2 separate regions of the Homo sapiens genome follow, and region 2 is linked to region 1. Evidence: promoter capture Hi-C in human tissues and cell types (Jung and others, 2019). All regions are on one chromosome and are shown on one strand. The core of a region is centred on a gene start or on the middle of the fragment in contact, and the rest is flanking DNA. Distances in the headings are between cores, read along the strand shown. Region 1 holds the start of KLRG2 (killer cell lectin like receptor G2). Region 2 overlaps DENND2A (DENN domain containing 2A).

Region 1 (3,305 bases), core at 34-2,533:
GGCTTTACTCTTTTTTTTTTGAGACGGAGTTTCTCTCTTGTTGCCCAGGCTGGAGTACAATGGCATGATCTCGGCCCACTGCAACCTCCGCTTCTCGGGTTCAAGCGACTCTCCTGTCTCAGCCTCCTGAGTAGCTGGGATTACAGGTGAATGCCACCATGCCAGGCTAATTTTTGTATTTTTAGTAGAGACGGGGTTTCATCATATTGGTCAGGCTGGTCTCGAACTCCTGACCTCAGGTGATCCGCCCGCCTCGGCTTCCCAAAGTGCTGGGATTACAGGCGTGAGACACGGCAACAATGTGAATTACAGTTACGTAGACAGGAATGTTATTGATTGTAAGCCCGAGAGGCCAGATCGGGTTGGGGATCGGGATGGCCAACTGGGTCCCTTAGTCGGTCAGCTGCCCAGCGGTCCAGGGCTGGGCGGGTGTGGGGGTTTCGGCTACGTCCACCCGACCTGGCGGCGTCGGCTGCCGGCGCAGGTGAGCACTCACCCGTAAGCGTTACGGCCCGGGGCAGCTTCTCGTCGCCGTCCAACCCCGCGCGGGGCAACAGCGCCGCATCCTCCTTCTCCAGCCCCAGCTCCTTGCAGCGGCAGCACGTGGGGGAGCCCGGGGAGCCGGCGCTTCCTTCCGCGGGGCTGGCCCGGCCCTCTGCGTCGCAGCCGCTCTCCGTCCGGGCTGCAGCCAGCGGCGAGCGGCGGCCCCACGTGCCGCCCTGGGATGGTGCGCGCAGCAGGAGCTGGTGCGCCGGGTCCGCGTGGCGGGAGAAGGCAGGGGACTCGGGCACCGGCACCTTGAGGAAGCGCGTGGAGGGCCTGGGCGATGGCGTGCTGCTGCCACCGGCCGCGCCCACGGGCTTCACGCGCACATCTACCTGCAGCTCCATGGGCGCCCAGGCGCTGGGCGCAGGCTCAGCCCCGGGCGCCTCGCCATTCCGGGGCAGCTTGACCAAGGCAGGGCCCGGTGACGGCGGCTCGGGGCAGACCCCGTAGCCCAGGCTGAGCGGCGGCACGCGCGGGGACCCGGGGCGAGGCGAAGGCGGCTTTTTCTTGCTCGAGGGCTCCAGGCCTGCGCCCGCCGCCTTCTCCACGGCCCCGGCCGGACTTGGGCTGCTTTCGGGACCTTCAGGTTGTCGCACCTTCGCGGGCACCTGCGGCTGCTCCAGCGTGGGGACCAGGCTTCCCACGGGCTCCATTGGGAGCTCTGCCCCGGCTTGGCCTCCGGGCGCAGCCTCCCAAGACTCCTCCATCCCGCGCGCCCCGCCACCCGGAGACGCTGAGGAGCGCACCTGGGCCCAGTGCAGAGGAGCTTCGCTCTCCTCCGTCCGGATTGGTCCAGCCGCGTCGCCGAAGTTGTCAGGCCACGCCCCTCCCCGAAGGACCCCGCTGTGATTGGCTGTGGCTGAGGTTCTGCTGCCCCGACCCCCTTCGGGACACAGCCCCGGCCTCCACCAGGCACTGGGAGGGAGCTGAGAACGGCAGCGGGGCCAGGCGAGGGTTGCAGGGTGGGCGGGAGCTCTCGGGAGAAAAGCAGAACACCAGCGGAGGCTTGTGGCAGGGAACCCGGAGCCCCGCCTGACCCTTCCCTCTTCTTTGTCTCTGACCTCACCCATTTTCCCCTCCAGCCCTATGCCGGGGTGTTGGTTTTGAGAGTTACAGTTTGGGCGGGGAAGGATTGGCCAAGCCTGTCTGGATCCTGGGACCTCAGAGAAATCAGAATCCAAAGGAATTGGGGCGACCTGTGGAAAAGTAGCCCAGTTGGTTGTCCTGACAATCCAGCAGGGTTTCGAAAGGACTCTCCATCATACTTGGGAGGACTCCCCCACTGAGTAACGCTAAGAGAAAAGAAACAGGGCGTGGATAAGCAATTCTTCTTTTTTTTTTTTTTTTTGAGACGGAGTCTTGCTCTGTCGCCAGGCTGGAGTGCAGTGGCCCGATCTCGGCTCACTGCAATCTCCGCCTCCCAGGTTCAAGCGATTCTCCTGCCTCAGCCTCGTGAGTAGCTGGGACTACAGGCACCCACCCCACCACGCCCGGCTAATTTTTGTATTTTTAGTAGAGACGGGGTTTCACCATGTTGGCCAGGATGGTCTCGATCTCCTGACCTCGTGATCTGCCCGCCTCGGCCTCCCAAAGTGCTGGGGTTACAGGCGTGAGCCACCGCGCCCCGCCTGGCCTCTGGTATTTTTAAGTGCCCCCAGGGTAGGGTTGGCAGATAAAATGCAGGCCACTCAGTTTAATTTGAATTTCAGTTAAACAAGGGATAGTTTTTAGCATAGTAGTCCTCCCTTATCCACTGGGATAGTTCCAAGACCTCCCAGTGAATGCCTGAAACTTTGGATAGCACCAAACCCTATATATACTGTTTTTTTCTATACAAGCGGTCTTCAAAAGGTTCATGGAAAATTCATACTATGAAAAAAACTATGCATGGATTTGAAAATTTTTTGGCACCAAAATAAATTTGTACTAACTTGTTATCACATGTCTCGACAAGATCTAGTTTGAGGCACTAAGAAGGATAAGACATCAGTTTGAAAAGAGCTCCTGTCAGAGCAACAAGGATTCTGCTAAATTTGAAGCAAGAATAATCATCACATTTATGGTGACATCATTGATATTTTTATGAAAAGCTCATGGGGACAATGCCCCCAAGAAACCAGCAGTTTGCAAATGGAAAACTCGTTTTAAGAAGGGATGAGGCCAGGCGTGGTGGCTCAGCCTGTAATCCCAGCACTTTGGGAGGCCGAGGCAGGTGGATCACTTGAGGTAAGGAGTTCGAGACCAGCCTGGCCAACATGCTGAAATCCTGTCTCTACTAAAAAAGCAAAAATTAAGCTGGGCGCGGCAGCTCACGCCTGTAATCCCAGCACTTTGGGAGGCCGAGGTGGGCGGATTGACTGAGCTCAAGAGTTCAAGACCAGCCTGGGCAACACAGTGAAACCCCGTCTCTACTAAAATACAAAAAATTAGCTGGCATGGTGGCATGCGCCTGTAGTCTCAGCTACTCGGGTGCCTGAAAATACAAAAAATTAGCCGGGCGTGGTAGTGGGTGCCTGTAATCCTAGCTACTCGGGAGGCTGAGGCAGGAGAATTGCTTGAACTCGGGAGGCAGAGTTTGCAGTGAGCCGAGATTGTGCCACTGTACTCCAGCCTGGGTGACAGAAGGAGACTCCATCTCAAAAAAAAAAAAAAAGAGAAGGGATGAGACAATGTTGAGGATAAAGCCCTCAGTGGCAGACCATCCACATCAATTTTTGAGTAAAATAATTAATCTTATTTGTGCCCTCATGAAGAGGACC
Region 2 (3,551 bases), core at 837-3,336, 1.1 Mb after region 1:
TTCCAGGCCTATTCTCCTCCCTCCTTTGTTTCCAGAGGTGATCTGGTTTGCTGAGGGTCTCTGAAACTGAAGACTCAAGGCTAAATGGGGTCCTTCTTCTGATGTCCACCAAGCCATGCAAAGGGGGTGGGAGGGATGAAAACAAACTCCTTCATAAAATCCCAGCCCAGGCTGGGCGCGGTGGCTCACGCCTGTAATCCTAGCACTTTGGGAGGCTGAGGCGGGTGGATAATGAGGTCAGGAGTTTGAGACCATCCTGGCCAACATGGTGAAACTCCGTCTGTACTAAAAATACAAAAATTAGCCGGGTGTGGCAGCAGGCACCTGTAGTCTCAGCTACTTGGGAGGCTGAGGCAACAGAATAGCTTGAACCTGGGAGGCAGAGGTTGCAGTGAGCCGAGATCACACCACTGCACTCCAGCCTGGGCGACAGTGCAAGACTTTGTCTCAAAAACAAAAACAAAAAATAAAGTTATAGAGGTGATACAGACTTGAAATGTAAATAGGTTTCAATAAAATGTATGAAAGAAAACGGGCTATTAAAAGAAATTAAGGATGTTCAGTGCAGATCCCTAACCTGAGGCCAACATCATGCAAAGGAACACCCCAGCTGCCATAGCATAGTTCTTGGGCTTGCCGCATTGGGCAGAGTCCTAGGCTGGATGGATTGAGGGTGGAACTCATGATGAGTGATCTGGGCCAGCTCTAGGGGTGGGGAGAAGACACCAAGGAATTGGACTGCTCACTGAAAGGCAGCCCCTCTGAGCACGGAGACTCGGCTGTCTGGGCCACTGCCTCCCCAGGGAGAAGGAAGGAGTCTGACAACTCACCTCAGTTCCTGAACCTGGCAGGAAGTTCTTGACAAGGATGGTTTTGCCCAGGGCTGGGAAAGGGGCTTCCATGACACTTCTCATGAGTGGCTGAACCAGGGCAGGAGAGATGCCTCGTCTTTTTTCCACCTCATCCAAGATCTGCAAGGGTCAGAAAAGCAGCTTAGCTATTCCGAAGCCAAAGCACCAAGGTGGAGCTCAGTTCTAGGTGAAGTGGGCCTGCCATGGTGACTCAAGAATTATGGGGAAGCCCTGCTTTCCCCATGAGGCCAAAACAGGCCCTTTGACCCTACACATGATTGTCCCCAATTCTTCTCTCCTCTGTGTGTCCACACCCTTTGCCATGCAATGTTGCAGCTCCTACTCAGGAGTGAAGTCCACTTCCTTGCCCCTTTGACCTAGGGTTTGGCCATGTGACAGGTTGTACTAATACATGCATTCTCAATGAAGGTAATATAACCCCAAGGGGGTAAGAACTGGTTTTTGGGAGGAATGAAAAAACTTAGATATTACAGTGGTTTGTAGCCCTCTAAGAGGTCACAGTACATAAACAGATATACAGTTTATTTATGAAATGAAAATGTCATGGGAGGGGATAGCCATCATGAAAATACAAATCAAAAGCACCATGAGATACCACTTCACACCCGTTAGGATGACTCTAATAAAAAGATGGATAAGAACAAGTGTTGACAAGGACATGGAGAAATTAGAAATCTCATACACTGCTGGTAGGAATGTAAAATAGTGAAGCTACTCTGGAGAACAGTCTGGTAGTTCCTCAAAAGGTTAAACATAGAGTTACCATATGACCCAGCACATAGCACTCCTAGGTACCTACCCAAAAGAAGTGAAAACATATATGTTCACATAAAAATTTGTACATGATTGTCTGTAGCGGCATTATTCATAATAGCCACAACACAGAAGAAACTTAAATGTCCATTAACTGATGAAGTGATAAACAAAATGCACTATATCCATATAATGGAATATTATTTGGCCATCAAAGTGCTGATACATGCTATAACTTGGATGACTCTTGAAAACATTATGCTAAATGAAAGAAGCTAGTCATAAAAGGCCATCTAATGTATGATTCCACTTAGATGAAATGTCCAGAATAGAAAAATCCAGAGAGACAGAAAGTGGATTGGAGGTTGCTTAGAGTTAGGGAGTGGCGGCTAATAGGTATAGGGTGTTTTGTTGGGGTGATGAAAATGCTCTAAAATTGTGGTGATGGTTGTATAACTCTGTGAATATGCTGAAAGCCACTGAACTGTATATATTTTTTATTTTTTATTATTTTAGAGATGGGAGTCTTGCTAGGTCGCCCAGGCTTGCCTTCAACTTCTGGGCTCAAGTGTCCTCCTATGTCAGCCTCCTGAGTAGCTGAGACTACAGGCGCTTGCCACTGTGCTCAGCAAATTGTGTACTTTAAATGAATGAATTGCATGGTATGTGAATTATATCTTAATAAAGCTACTACTAAAAAACTAAAAAAAAAAAAAAAAATTCCAAACTCTCCACAATCTAATTGTAAATTGAAGAGTCTAAATTAAAATGCCGTTTATGAAGCTGGGTGAGATGGCACACACCTGTAATCCCAGCTACTTGGAAGGCTGAGGCAGGAGAATTGCTTGAGCCCAGGAATTTGAGGCTGCAATGAGCTATGATCATGCCACCACACTCCAGCCTGGGCAACATAGTGAGACCCAGTCTCTATTTTTAAAAACTGCCATTTATAAAAGTATCACATGTAGCTATTGAGCCCTTGAAATATGGCTAGTCTGAATTCAGAGGTTTTTTTACTTTATTTTTTATTTTTTTTTGAGACAGAGTTTCGCTCTTGTTGCCCAGGCTGGGGTGCAGTGGCATGATCTCGGCTCACTGCAACCTCTGCCTCCTGGGTTCAAGCAATTCTCCTGCCTCAGCCTCCCGAGTAGCTGGGATTACAGGCATGCACCACCACGCCTGGCTAATTTTGTAGTTTTAGTAGAGACGGGGTTTCTCCATGTTGGTTAGGCTGGTCTCGAACTCCCGACCTCAGGTGATCCACCCACCTCGGCTTCCCAGTGTTGGGATTACAGGCATGAGCCACTGTGCTGGCCCAGATGTATTGTTAAATGTAAAATACCAGCCGGGCATGGTGGCTCCCACCTGTAATCCCAACATTTTGGGAGGCCAAGGCTGGCGGATCACTTGAGGTCAGGAGTTTGAGACCAGCCTGCCAACACGGTGAAACCCCATCTCTACTAAAACTACAAAATTAGCCAGGCGTGGTGGCAGGCTATATTCCCAGATATATTCCCAGATACATGGGAGGCTGAAGCAGAAGAATTGCTTGAATCCAGTAGGCAGAGGTTGTGGTGGGCTGAGATCGCGCCATTGCACTCCAGCCTGGGTGACAAGAGCAAAACCATCTAAAAAAAAAAAGTGTAAAATACCAATGGAATTTCAAAATACACATTTTTTTTTTCCAGAATGAGTCTTGCTCTGTCGCCCAGGCTGGAGTGCAATGGCGCAATCTTGGCTCACTGCAACCTCTGCCTCCTAGCAAGCAATTCTCATGCCTCAGCCTCCCAAGTAGCTGGGATTACAGGCATGTGCCACCACACCCAGCTAATTCTTGTATTTTTAGTAGAGACGGAATTTTGCCATGTTGGCCAGGCTGGAACTCCTGACCTCAGGCGATCCAACCACCTCGGCCTCCCAAAGTGC

The links. The method cuts DNA at HindIII sites, captures the fragments that hold promoters and counts their contacts. A contact is called where the count stands out against the background at its distance.
Region 2: a contact is called between a fragment that was not itself captured here and the fragment with the promoter of KLRG2 in region 1, in 1 of the 25 tissues and cell types used here (hippocampus).

Annotation. Positions count from the first base shown.
Region 1 is chr7:139,482,390-139,485,694 of GRCh38, forward strand. It overlaps KLRG2 (killer cell lectin like receptor G2), which reads right to left and starts at 1,284. Exons shown (of 5, transcript NM_198508.4): 1 at 497-1,284. The coding sequence starts at 1,253. RefSeq lists an enhancer at 444-523 and silencers at 654-933, 1,394-1,453. The HindIII fragment of the contact is 6,160 bases long and covers 1-3,305 here.
Region 2 is chr7:140,545,969-140,549,519 of GRCh38, forward strand. DENND2A (DENN domain containing 2A) reads right to left here. Exons shown (of 20, transcript NM_015689.5): 13 at 831-971. Among named protein-coding and RNA genes, the nearest start is that of MKRN1, 68 kb to the left of the region's middle. The HindIII fragment of the contact is 6,920 bases long and covers 1-3,551 here.